Regions from separate parts of the Homo sapiens genome. Here region 2 is linked to region 1. Evidence: promoter capture Hi-C in 16 types of primary human blood cells and fetal thymus (Javierre and others, 2016). All regions are on one chromosome and are shown on one strand. Each heading gives the region's core, a stretch centred on a gene start or on the middle of the fragment in contact. The rest is flanking DNA. Distances are from core to core; before and after follow the strand shown. Region 1 holds the start of HOOK2 (hook microtubule tethering protein 2). Region 2 overlaps GET3 (guided entry of tail-anchored proteins factor 3, ATPase).

What was found. Contacts are between HindIII fragments. The CHiCAGO score rates a contact against its expected background, and 5 or more counts as called.
Region 2: a fragment that was not itself captured here is called in contact with the fragment with the promoter of HOOK2 in region 1 in 1 of 17 cell types (erythroblasts); the score reaches 8.9 in erythroblasts.

Annotation. Positions count from the first base shown.
Region 1 is chr19:12,770,109-12,776,801 of GRCh38, forward strand. It overlaps HOOK2 (hook microtubule tethering protein 2), which reads right to left and starts at 5,444. Exons shown (of 23, transcript NM_013312.3): 1 at 5,297-5,444; 2 at 4,704-4,789; 3 at 4,561-4,633; 4 at 2,886-2,936; 5 at 2,672-2,804; 6 at 2,505-2,572; 7 at 2,082-2,144; 8 at 1,289-1,369; 9 at 1,051-1,211; 10 at 824-964. The coding sequence starts at 5,341. RefSeq lists enhancers at 834-1,334, 1,335-1,835, 4,366-5,046, 5,047-5,725, a cis regulatory region at 5,262-5,903 and a silencer at 5,288-5,507. The HindIII fragment of the contact is 30,934 bases long and covers 1-6,693 here.
Region 2 is chr19:12,738,201-12,744,483 of GRCh38, forward strand. It overlaps GET3 (guided entry of tail-anchored proteins factor 3, ATPase), which reads left to right. Exons shown (of 7, transcript NM_004317.4): 2 at 311-458. Among named protein-coding and RNA genes, the nearest start is that of GET3, 3.8 kb to the left of the region's middle. The HindIII fragment of the contact is 4,185 bases long and covers 650-4,834 here.

The sequences.
Region 1 (6,693 bases), core at 4,194-6,693:
GGCTGAGAGCTCTGATCAGGGGTCAGCTGGGATGTGGAGTGGCCCTTGGAGCACAGGGTGTTGTTCAGCCTGAGGCTTTTGGGTTCAAGGTGAAGGGGTCATGAAAGTTGAGGGTTAGGGGTCAATCAGGGCCTGGAGCTGTTGAGAGTCATTACAGCAATGGTTAGCCCAGGGTTATAATCAGGTATCCCCTGGGGTGGAATTGTGGGGACACAGAGGGTGGGGTTATAGGGGGAGTGATGGGGAGCCTAGAGAGGTCTGAGCATCTGCCAAGGATACCTTGGAGTCATTGGGGGAGGTATGGGACAAGAGGACTGCGGGGTCCTTAGAAGTGCAATTGGGGGGTGCACTAGTACCTTCGCATTACAGAGATGCTATAGGGGCCCAGTGGAGCCCTTTGTGGTTACAGAAGGCACAGTAGAGTCAAAAGGGGGTGCAAAGTAATTGCATTGTGGAGTCCTAGAAGGTACCATGGGATCCAGGGGCATTATGAAGCCCAAACTGTGCAGTGGGATCTGCAGAGCATTGTAGGGGAGGTTCTTGTGTTTTGGGGGGCCACAGGGATGCTATGGGGTCTTGGAAGCATACTGTGGGATAAGGGGGGGGCAGTGTGGGGTCCAGGGGATATGGTGGAATTCAGGATAGTGCAATGTGGCCTTGGGCGTTCTGTAGGGCTCAGGGTGGCACTGTGGAGTCCAGGGGGCATATTGGGGGTTCACTGGGCACATGAAAATTACAGAGCTGCTATGGCATCAGAGGGGAACTCTGGAAACAGGTTTACCCCCCGCCCCCCGTGATGGGGACCCAGGAACCCACCACTCACCGTAGTTCATCCATCTCATCCTTCAGGGCCTGTGCCTCCTGGGCCAGGCTAGTCAGCGCCTGGTTCCGGTGCTGCAGCTCCGCAACCTCCCTCTCCAGCTCGGCACAGCGCAGGCGCTCATCCTCCCTGCCACTCTCCAGCCTGGGGGTGTTGGGGGAAGAGCACATGAGGGGGCTGCCCTCCCCCGGTCCCCTGGCTTGCCTGGCCCAGTCCCCAGCTGACCACACCTGAAGTTCTCCTCCTGCAACTGCTCCAGCTGGGATTGCAGCAGCAGCAGCTTCTTGGCAGTGAGACCTGGGGTACCCTCGCCTTCAGGCCGGCCCATCCGCTCCCGCAGCCCTGCATTCTCTTGCGCCAGGCTCTGCTTCTCCTCTGACAGGAGCATCAGCTGCGGGCAGGGCAGAAAGATGAGCTTGGGCTTGGAGAGGGGCTACTCAAGTGACCCTGCCCCACCTAGGGCCCTACCTGCCGCTCCAGATCCAGACAGCGCTGCTGTAATTCGTCCCCCTCCTCAGCCTCCTCACTTAGGAAATAGTACCTGCGGGACTGCAGAGATGAGGGGGAAGAGGAACTCAGGGATTCAGGAGAAGGACGGGGGGAGGGAGGCTGAGATCTCTAGAGGCCAAATGGAGGGGGCCAAGAAACCCTCAGGATTGAAAAGAGGGCTGGCGCCGGGTGCAGTGGCTCGCGCCTATAATCCCAGCACTTTGGGAGGCTGAGGCGGGTGGGTTACCTGAGATCAGGAGTTCCAGACCAGCCTGCCCAACGTGGCGAACCCCTTCTCTACTAAAAACACAAAAATTAGCCGGGTGTGGTGGCGTGTGCCTGTAGTCCTGGCTACTCGGGAGGCTGAGGCAGGAGAATCGCTTGAACCCGGGAGGCGGAGGTTGCAGTGAGCCGAGATCGTGCCACTGCACTCCAGCCTGGGTGACAGAGTGAGACTCCATCTCAAAAAAAAAAAAAAAAAAGAAAAAGAAAAGAAAAGAAAACAGGGCTGGGGTTGGAGACTGAAGGAAGAGCGATTCCAGAACACTGGAGACCTGGTACAGGAAGTGGCTAGCACCCTGGAAGATGGGCGTGGCTTACAGGCTTAAGGACAAGCCCCTCCCCCTTAGGCTACCCTGAGCATCTGTAAGTGGGGTCTGGACCTTTAACAAGGTTAAGTCACAAGGTTAATCACAGCAAACTTATCCCCAACTCCCGGCCTTTGGATTTGCTGATCCCTGTGCCTGGAACACCTTTCCCCCAAATCTCTTACCTGGCTGTCAAAGTTGCCATACGTCTCTGGTGACAGGGAGTCAGGAGTGTCTTTGGTCATGAGCTGAGGAGTGGGAAGGGGCATTGTAATGAACTGGATATCTGAGGCCAGCCTTCAAAGTATCTACTATCCAACCTGAGAACCTCTCCATCCTCCCGTCAAGGCCAGTTCTGCCCAATAACCCCAGCCCAGAGGCTGCCCTCCTGCCTCCAACACAGAGGGAAGCCAGATCCCTTGAGCCTGCTAGATTGCGACTTAGAGCTGGGAGGAGCTGGCAGACACATGAGACAGAGATGTCTGGCCAGCTGAGTTCCAGGCAGAGTCCAGACCTTACCAGGGCAGGACCTGTGCCCAGTTCTCTCTGCCCTAGAGATGTCCCCTCTCCTGACATTTTCCAATTGCACACTGAGTGCCCCCACCCACCTCTTGGATGGCTTCCATCACCACATGCTGAACCGATTCTTCCAGCGTCATGATTCTCTGGATGTGGTCTGGGGATCAAGGTGGGGGAGGCTGAGACCCAGGGGTGAGGTGGGGAGGAAGGAGGATTTCCTCAGGCCAGCCCTGGGGACCCCCTAAGCTCCCCATACCCTGCTTTTTCTCGCAACTGATGGCACAGCCCAGCACCAGCTGAAGCAGCTTGCCGAGCTCTGCCGGGTCTGAGAACTCTCCAATGAGGCTCACATCTGGGAGATGCTCTTCTGACACAGGATGCGCCAGGACCTGGGGAGAAGGGGGTGTCAGGGGCTCATGGGCCCACCCTTCTCCCAACTCAACCCCCTGAATCCCTTTACAGTTACTCACATCCTGGGAGTACTCTACTAGGCTCCGTAAGACCATCTTCAGATTGCTGACCTAGGGAGGAACAAGGAACTGTGGACAAGTTCAGAGGCCTCCCACTCTGAATCTGTAGGTCCCATCCTCTCTCCACCTCACTTCTCCTTCCCTGCTCATCTCATCCTATTCTGTCTGCGTGCGCCTTCCTCTAGGGGTGACCTGTCTGGCTGTCTGCCCCTTTTGTCTGCCTGACCATCTTTGTTTCTTTTTTTTTTTTTTTTTTTTTTTGCTTTAGCTTTTTAAGACAGGGTCTGGCTCTGTCACCCAGGCTGGAGTGCAGTGGTGCAATCTTGGCTCACTGCAGCCTCGACCTCCTGGGGTCAAGCAATCCTCCTATCTCTGCCTCCCAGTAGCTGGGACTACAGGCATATGCCACCACAATCGACTACTTTTTTTTATTTGTAGAGAGGAGGTTTTGCTATGTAGCCCAGGCTGGTCTCAAGCTCCTGAGCTCAAGCAATCCTCCCACCTCAGCCTCTAAAATTGCTGGGATTACAGGCATGAGCCACTGTGCCCGGCCTGCCTGACCATCTTCCTTCATATGTCTCCAGAACCAAGTCACTTCTCACCACCTGCCCCACCATCCTTCAGCCCTACCCATCCATCTTTACCTCTCACCTGGATTAGTGCACCAGCTGCCTCTCCTCTTCCACTTTTGCTGCCTACATTTTATTTCTCTCCATGCAGCCAGGGGGAGCTTTATAAAGCCCAAGCCAGGTTGCATCTTTGCTCTGCTAAAACCCTGCCTTGACTTTCCACAGCACTTAAAAATAGAATCCACACCCCCACCATGGCCTGCCAGGCCCCTGATGACCTCATCTCCTACAAATCTTGCCCTCTTGCTCTGTTCTGCCCTCTCTGCCATTCCTCCATCACACCAAGTTTATTCCCAAATCACGGCCTTTACATCTGCTATTCCCTATGCCTGGAACACCGTTCCCCCAAATTTCACTTGGAGATTAACCCATCTGATGTAATCAGCCACCTATGCCCTCATTGCTCTCTCTCAAAGCCCTGCTTTTTTGTTGTCTTCACAGAACTACTGGCATCAAAAGTTTTTTCTTTTTCTTTTTCTTTTTCTTTTTTTCTTCTTCTTGAGACAAGAGTCTCGCTCTGTTGCCCAGGCTGGAGTGCAATGGCTCAATCTCAGCTCACTGCATCCTCCACCTCCCAGGTTCAAGTGATTCTCATGTCTCAGCCTCCCAAGTAACTGGGATTACAGGTGCACACCACCCCACCCAGCTAATTTTTGTATTTTTAGTAGAGATGGGGTTTCAACTTGTTGGCCAGGCTGGTCTTGAACTCCTGGCCCCAGGTGATCCACCCACTTTAGCCTCTCAAAGTGTTGGGATTACAGGCATGAGCCACTGCGCCCAGCCTGGAAGTTAATTTTTATGGTTGTGTATGTGTTGCTTGTCACTAGAATGATGGCTGTGTGGGGCAGGTTTTTGTCTGTGTTATTCCTTGCTGAATGCCCAGGCCTGGCACAGGGTGAGTACTCCATAGATGAATGGATGAACAAATGGTTGATCACCAGACATCTGTCCCTCTTCCTGCCCATCACCCAGGACATGTGCCTAGCTGGCCCGTCCCTGGTCATCTCTTCACCAGTCTGTCCTCTAATCAGGAGTCCACTTGTCACCTTCAGCTTCCAGTTGGGACCTGGATCTTCCGAGATGCCCTGGAGCCATGCCTCGTTGAACCAGGAGGGGTCTCTGGGGGCGAGAAGGTGGGATGAGCAGACTGGGGGACACTTTTGGGATCCTCCCCTTCAGCTCCACTCACATCTGGTTCAGCACATAGGCTACGGCAAGGCCGCTGCTCAGGTCCTGAGGGCTGGCACAGGGAGACGGAACGTGGAACGTCTGTAACTGAGGGGTAAAGGAAAGGACAAGGAAAGAGTTAGGGCCTGGGAGCGCCGAACCGCTCCCCTTTTGCAGACTTTTCCAGTCAGCGAACCTCACATGGTGGGGCGGGCGCTGCTCCGCCACAGCAGCTCTGCGAGGGACTGGCTTCTGCTCACCTGAGACCGGAGGGGGCGTGGCCTCACCTCACCTCTGCCCAACAAACCCTGCGCGTCCAGGCCAGGGTGGTATCGCGAGTCACCTGGGCCCCACAGGCACCACGTGACCAGGCCAATTCACCTGTGTCCTCGCCCCACGTGAACCAACCACAGAGGGGCGGGGCCTCACCTGTCCTTTCCACGCAGACTTGCCACGTGACGGGGGCGGGTGCTCGGGCCAGAGTCCAACGGTCCAGCAAGTCGACGACCCCGCACCTCCCAGCCCCAGCACCAAGAGACTGACCGAACCAGGGCCAGGGATCCCGGGCAAGAGGAGCGGGCGCTCACCTTCCCCTAGCCCCGCCCCACGACCTACCCAGGTGAGCAGAGACCCGCATAGCTCAGCTTTGTCCACGCTCATGGCTCCCGATCGGATTCAATCCAGGCCACGGAGCCCCGGCGCCGCAGCAGCCTCCGGGTCCGCCACCAGCGAGCGCCCGCAGCCCCGACCTCCCGCTCGGCCTAGAGCGCCGCCCCGCCCCGCCCCCCTAGGCGCAGGCCCCGCCCCGCCCCCAAGCCCAGGCTCCGCCTCGGAACGTAATCTCCTCCCTACGCCCGCTCTTGCCTCCAGCCCCGCCATCTTGGATCCGGGCACCGTTCGGGCGCCCGCCCTGCCGCTAGGGGTCAGCCTGGCCCAGCCTTGTGCATCCGAGGGTGGTCCCACCTCCCATCCTCGCCCTGGCCCTTTTTGGGGTGGGAGGTCCTCAAGATCCTTTTGAGACGGAGGTGCTCCACCCTGTTACACAAGCGCATTCACGTCTTTTCCCTGCAACTTAAGTAAATTCTTTTTTTTTTTTTTTTTTTTTTTGAGACGGAGTCTCGCTGTCGCCCAGGCTGGAGTGCAGTGGCGCAATCTCGGCTCACTGCAGGCTCCGCCCCCTGGGGTTCACGCCATTCTCCTGCCTCAGCCTCCCGAGTAGCTGGGACTACAGGCGCCCGCCACCTCGCCCGGCTAATTTTTTGTATTTTTAGTAGAGACGGGGTTTCACCGTGTTAGCCAGGATGGTCTCGATCTCCTGACCTCGTGATCCGCCCGCCTCGGCCTCCCAAAGTGCTGGGATTACAGGCGTGAGCCACCGCGCCCGGCCTTAAGTAAATTCTTGTGTCTAACCACTTTATAATCGGAGCCGTTGTGCGGGGAGGGGCGAGCCCTGGCACTTTCTATGGACTGGGAGAGGGGATGCTAAAGGGGTTTTCCCGCCGGACGCGGTGGCTCTCGACTGTAATCCCAGTATTTTGGGAGGCCTAGGAGGGAGAATTAATTTGGATAGAAGTTGGAGACCAGCCTCTCTTCAAAAAATTTAAAAATTACCCAGGTAGCGGTGGCTCACGCCTGTAATCCCAGCACTTTGGGAGGCCGAGGCGGGCGGATCACGAGGTCAGGTGTTCGAGACCAGCCTGGCCAACATGGTGAAACCCCGTCTCTACTAAAAATACTAAAAATTAGCTGGGCGTGGTGGCGCACGCCTGATTTCAGCTACTCGGGAGGCTGAGGCAGGAGAATCGCTTGAACCCTGGAGGCGGAGGTTGCAGTCAGCCGAGATCGTACCACTGCACTCCAGGGGGCAACAGTGCAAGACTCCTCAAAAAAAAAAAAAAAAAAATTAGCCAGACATGTTGGCGTGTTTCTGTGGTCCTAGCTCCTAGCTCTACAGAGGCTGAGGTGGGAGGATAGCTTGAGCCCAGGAGGTCGAGACTGCAGTGAGCCGTGAT
Region 2 (6,283 bases), core at 1,492-3,991, 35 kb before region 1:
GGAGTCAAGCTATGCTGGCTGGACCGCTGGGCCATGCCACTGTGCCCAGCAAAAAAGAAGCAGGCACTAGGCCAGACAGACTCAGTCAGCTGAACCTTACCTCTCTAGTCCACATAGAGGGGTCAGGAGATAAATCAGAGAGGGTTCCTTTGTAGGGACTGAGGCTCAATCCCACCATAACCCATACTCTCCTCTCAAGGCCCCTGCTGATTCGGGTCACCTGCTCCAGGGAACCTACCACTCCCCTTGCAGACCCAGGGAACAGAGCCCATCCCCTCATCCCCTATCTTTTGACTTTTCCATTACTCAGCTGCAGCCTGGCAGTCCAGCTCTCCAAGGGGCGTGAGAGTGTTCTGATCATCTCCACAGACCCAGCACACAACATCTCAGATGCTTTTGACCAGAAGTTCTCAAAGGTGCCTACCAAGGTCAAAGGCTATGACAACCTCTTTGCTATGGTGAGTGGAACAGGGCTTAGCCCCCACTTCTGGGAAAAGCCTCTTCCAGCCTTTCTTGTGCGCACACACCAGCAGCCACCGTGTCCTATCCACTCTATATCCTGTGTCTCTCGTGTTTCACTCCTTCCTCAACATACTCACAAGGGAACCAATGAGGAATTGCAGAGCAGGAAGCACACCAGAGTGCCTGAAGCTTAGTGAGCCAGGGTAGGGGAAGGAGAAGTTGGAGAGACCAATCAGAGCCACATGGTGTGGGACCTTATGGGCCACTAAGAAGTTTGGCATTGACTCCAGGTTATTAACGGGAAGCTGTTTGTTTTAAGCAGGGCAATGTCGTGGCCAAATTCATGTTTGAAAAGTACCCTTTGACGGCCAGGTGGAGATTTAATTGTCAGTCAGGGTAGAAGCAGGGAAACTAACAAGGAGATTGGGGGTGTAACCAGTTGAGAGATGACAACATCCTGGACTCTGGTGGAGGCAGAATGTTGGGGGAGAAGTAGTCAGACTTGAGGTTTTTTTTTTTTTTAGACACTCAAGACTCCTCTGTCTCCCAGGCTGGAGTGCAGTAACCCGATCTAGGCTGACTGCAACCTCCGCCTCCCAGGTTCAAGCAATGCTCCTGCCTCAGCCTCCCGAGTAGCTGGCACTACAGGCTTGCGCCACCACTGCCTGTTAATTTTGTTTTTTTTAGGAGACAGGTTTTCACCATATTGGCCAGGCTGGTCTCAAACTCCTGACCTCAAGTGATCTGACTGCCTCGGCCTCCCACAGTGCTGGGATTACAGGCATGAGCCACCACATCGCACCAGGGATGTATTTTGGAAGTAAACCAGTAAGATTACTTGGGTGAGAAAAAGAAATGAATTGATTACATGTCTTTCTTGTCTCTCTGAGCAGCTGGGATGGGGAAAACTAGGAAAGGAGTAGGTTTAGAATGAACAAATAAAGAATTTCATTTTGTCCACAGTGAATCTGAGTTGCCCACTGGAAATCCAAGTGTAAACATCATGACAGTAGCTTGTTTATGTGAGTCTGGAGCCCAGAGGAGGTTGGCATTGATTTGGAAGTCACTGTCTCAAGGGTGGCATTTAAAGCTGTGTGAGGGCTGGGCATGGTGGCTCATTCCTGTAATCCTAGCACTTTGAGAAGCCAAGGTGGGCGGATCACTTGAGGTCAAGAGTTTGAGACCAGCCTGGCCAACATGGTGAAACCCCATCACTACTAAAAATATAAACCAATTAGCTGGGCATGGTGGCAGGTGCCTGTAATACCAGCTACTCAGAAGGCTAAGGTAGGAGAATCGCTAGAACCCAGGAAGCAGAGATTCTCCTGCCTCAGCCTCCGGAGTTGCTGGGATTACAGGTGCCTACCACCATGCCCGGCTAATTTTTGTATTTTTAGTAGAGACGAGGTTTTCTCACGTCTCAAAAAAAAAAAAAATTGGCTGGGCGCAGTGGCTCACTCCTGTCATCCCAGCACTGTGGGAGACCGAGGCGGGTGGATCACAAGGTCAGGAGATCAAGACCCTCCTGGCTAACACGGTGAAAGCCCATCTCTACTAAAAATACAAAAAATAGCTGGGCATGGTGGCAGGCGCCTTTAGTCCCAGCTGCTCAGGAGGCTGAGGCAGGAGAGTGGCGTGAACCCCGGAGGCGGAGCTTGCAGTGAGCTGAGATCGCGCCACTGCACTCCAGCCTGGGCGACAGAGCAACACTCTGTCTCAAAAAAATAATAAAGGCCGGGCACGGTGGCTCACATCTGTAATCTCAGCACTTTGGGAGGCTGAGGCGGGCAGATCACAAGGTCAAGAGACTGAGACCATCTTGGCTAACACGGTGAAACCTCATCTCTACTAAAAATACAAAAAAATTAGCCAGGTATGGTGGCGGGCACCTGTAGTCCCAGCTACTCCGGAGGCTGAGGCAGGAGAATGGCGTGAACGCGGGAAGTGGACCTTGCAGTGAGCCGAGATCGCGCCACTGCTTTACAGCCTGAACAACGGAGCGAGACTCAACAAAAAATAATAAATAAAAATAAAATAAAATAAAGAGATGCTGCAGAGTGAGGATGCTGGCAGAGGACAGTCCTCAGGTGGGATGAGCTCCATCCAGCATACAGACCCAGAACTTGGGCGCTGCCAGGGTCAGGGACTGGGAGGGAAACAGGAGGAATTGGGGCACTTCCCGGGCAGAGATGAGGGTGTTGGCAGCCAATGGCTTCTCTTTCTCACCAAGGAACAGGCAAGGGTCTCAGCAGTGAATGGGATAGAAGTTTGAGGAGGGAGAAAATACCACATAAACACTTATTAAGGTAGCAGGGGGAACCAGAATTGTCTGGATCATCAAGTGCCCATTGGAGATTTGTGTTCAGAAGAGGGGAGCAAGGGCGGGCGTGGTGGCTCATGCCTGTAATCCCAGCACTTCGGGAGGCTGAGGCAGGTGGATCAGAAGGTCAGGAGTTAAAGACCAGCCTAGCCAAGATGGTGGAACTCCATCTCTACTAAAAATACAAAAATTAGCTGGGCATGGTGGCTCACGCCTGTAATCCCAGCACTCTGGGAGGCCGAGGTGGGCGGATCACAAAGTCAGGAGATTGAGACCAGCCTGGCTAACAGGGTGAAACCCCATCTCTACTAAAAATACAAAAAGTTAGCCGGGCGTGATGGCGGGTGCCTTTAATCCCAGTTATTCGGGAGGCTGAGGCAGGAGAATGGCGTGAACGCGGGAGGTGGAGCTTACAGTGAGCCTAGATCGCGCCACTGCACTCCAGCGTGGGTGACAGAGCAAGACTCCATCTCAAAAAAAAAAATACAAAAATAAGCCAGGCACGGTGGCTCACGCCTGTAATCCCAGCACTTTGGGAGGCTGAGGCGGGCAGATCACCTGAGGTCGGGAGTTCGAGACCAGCCTGACCAATATGGTGAAACCCCGTCTCTACTAAAAATACAAAAATTAGCCTTGCGTGGTGGCCGGCACCTGTAGTCCCAGTTACACGGGAGGCTGAGGCAGGAGAATTGCTTGAACCTGGGAGACGGAGGTTGCAGTGAGCCGAGATCATGCCACTGCACTCCAGCCTGGGATACAGAGCGACACTCCATCTCAAAAAAAAAAAATTAGTTGGGCCTGGTGGTGGGCGCCTGTAATCCCAGATACTCGGGAGGCTGAGGCAAAGAATTGCTTGAACCTGGGAGGCGGAGGTCACAGTGAGTCGAGATTGTGCCACTGTACTCCAACCTGGATGACAGAGCGAGACTCCGTCTCCAAAAGGGTGAGGAGCAAGATGGGAATACTCTTCAGGAGTGTTCGGCCCTCAAGTGCAGTGATACTAAAGAGCTAGAAAGCCATACCTATCATTTCAGTGCTTGCAGAGACTGAGACAAGAGGATCACGTGAGGTCAGGAGTTCAAGACCAGCCTGGGCAACAAAGGGAGACCCTTTCTCTACAAAAAACAAACAAAATTAGCTGGGCATGGTGGTGTGTGCCTATAGTCCCAGTAAGTTGGTAGGTTGAGGCAGGAGGATCATTTGAGCCTAAGAGTTTGAGGCTGCAATGAGCTATGTATGAGATGGTATCTTTTTTTTTTTTTTTTTTGAGACTGAGTTTCACTCTGTCACCCAGGCTGGAGTGCAGTGGTGTGATCTCAGCTCACTGCAACCTCTACCTCCTGAGTTTAAGCGATTCTCCTGCCTCAGCCTCCCAAGTAGCTGTGATTACAGGCGCCCGCCACCACATCCGGCTAATTTTTGTTTTGGGGGGGTTTTTTTTGTTTGTTTTGAGACGGAGTCTTATTCTGTCGCCCAGGATGGAGTGCAGTGGCGCAATCTCGGTTCACTGCAACCTCTTCCTCCCGATTTCAAGTGATTCTCCTGCCTCAGCCTCCCGAGTAGCTGGGACTCCAGGTGCATGCCACCATGCCCGGCTAATTTTTAGTATTTTTAGTAGAGACGGGGTTTCACCATGTTAACCAGGATGGTCTCGATCTCCTGACCTCGTGATCCACCCGCCTTGGCCTCCCAAAGTGCTGGGATTACAGGCGTGAGCCACCGCGCCTGGCCTGTATTTTTTTTTAGTAGAGACGGGGTTTCAACATGTTGGCCAGGCTGTTTTCAATCTCCTGACCTCAAATGATCTGCCTGGCTTGGCTTCCTAATACACTGGGATTACAAGTGTGAGCTACCGCGCCCGGCCAAGACGCTATCTCTAAAAGAAAGAAAAAAAAAGCTGGAAGTAACCAGAGTGGGGGATTTTGCCAACAGCAAGGGGAAAGGGAGTGTTTGCAGAGGGAACCTGTGGAGGCTGGGCTGGATAAGGGTGCCAGCCAAGAGGAACACTGACAGTTTACAGGGGCCAGGTGAGGGGATGAAGTAGTCCAAAGAAGCTTAAAATATATGAAGCATAAGAAGAGGGTGCAGTGATGAGTGGGCAAGCTCCCCAACAGGGAATGACCCCTAAGGCCAGCGAGTTGGGTACTTCCCCATGGGACCCATGAAGTTACCAAGAAGAGGTGACAGAGGAGGAAGATAAAGAGGGAGGCATTGGCCGGGCATGGTGGCTCATACCTGTAATCCCAGCATTTTGGGAGGCTGAGGTGGGTGGATCACCTGAGGTTGGGAGTTGAAAACCAGCCTGACCAACATAGAGAAGCCCCGTCTCTACTAAAAATACAAAATTAGCTGGGGTGGTGGCGCATGCCTGTAATCCCAGCTACTCAGGAAGCTGAGGCAGGAGAATCACTTGAACCCTGGAGGCGGAGGTTGCAGTGAGCCAAGATCACGCCATTGTCCAGCCTAGACAACAAGAGTGAAACTCCATCTCAGAAAAAAAAAAAATTACAAAAATTAGCCAGGCATGGCCAGGCGTGATGGCTCGTGCCTGTAATCCCAGCACTTTGGGAGGCCGAGGTGGGTGGATCACGAGGTCAGGAGATCGCCACCATCCTGGCTAACACAGTGAAACCCCGTCTCTACTAAAAATACAAAAAATTAGCCAGGTGTGGTGGCGGGCGCCTGTAGTCCCAGCTACTCACTGCACTCCAGCCTGGGTGACAGAGCGAGACTCCATCTCTTTTTTTTTTTTTTTTTTTTTTTTGAGATGGAGTCTCGCTCTGTCGCCCAGGCTGGAGTGCAGTGGCGTGATCTCAGCTCACTGCAGGCTCCGCCCCCTGGGGTTCATGCCATTCTCCTGCCTCAGCCTCCCAAGTAGCTGGGACTACAGGCACCCGCCACCTCGCCCGGCTAATTTTTTGTATTTTTAGTAGAGACGGGGTTTCACCGTGTTAGCCAGGATGGTCTCGATCTCCTAACCTCAGGTGATCTGCCTGCCTCGGCCTCCCAAAGTGCTGGGATTACAGGCGTGAGCCACCACGCCCGGCCAAGACTCCATCTCAAAAAAAAAAAAAAAAAAAAAAATTAGCCAGGCATGGTGGGGCATGCCTATAGTCTCAGCTACTCGGGAGGCTGAGGCAGGAGAATTGCTTGAACCCAGAAGGTGGAGGTTGTGATGAGCTGAGATCGCGCCACTGCACTCCAGCCTAGGCAACAAGATCAAAACTCCATCTCGGGAAAAAAAAAAAAAAAAGAGGGAGGCATTGAGTCTGAGACTGGCCAGGGACCCCAGCCATGGCCATCCCTTCATAGATTCTACATACATGTTTGTGTTTTGTTTTGTTGTTTGTTTTTTGAGACAGAGTCTCCCTCTGTCACCCAGGCTGGAGTGTAATGGCGTGATCTCGGCTCACTGTAACCTCTGCCTCCCGGGTTCAAGCGATTCCCCTGCCTCAACCTCCAGAGTAGCTGGGATTATAGGCACCCGCCACTATGCATGGC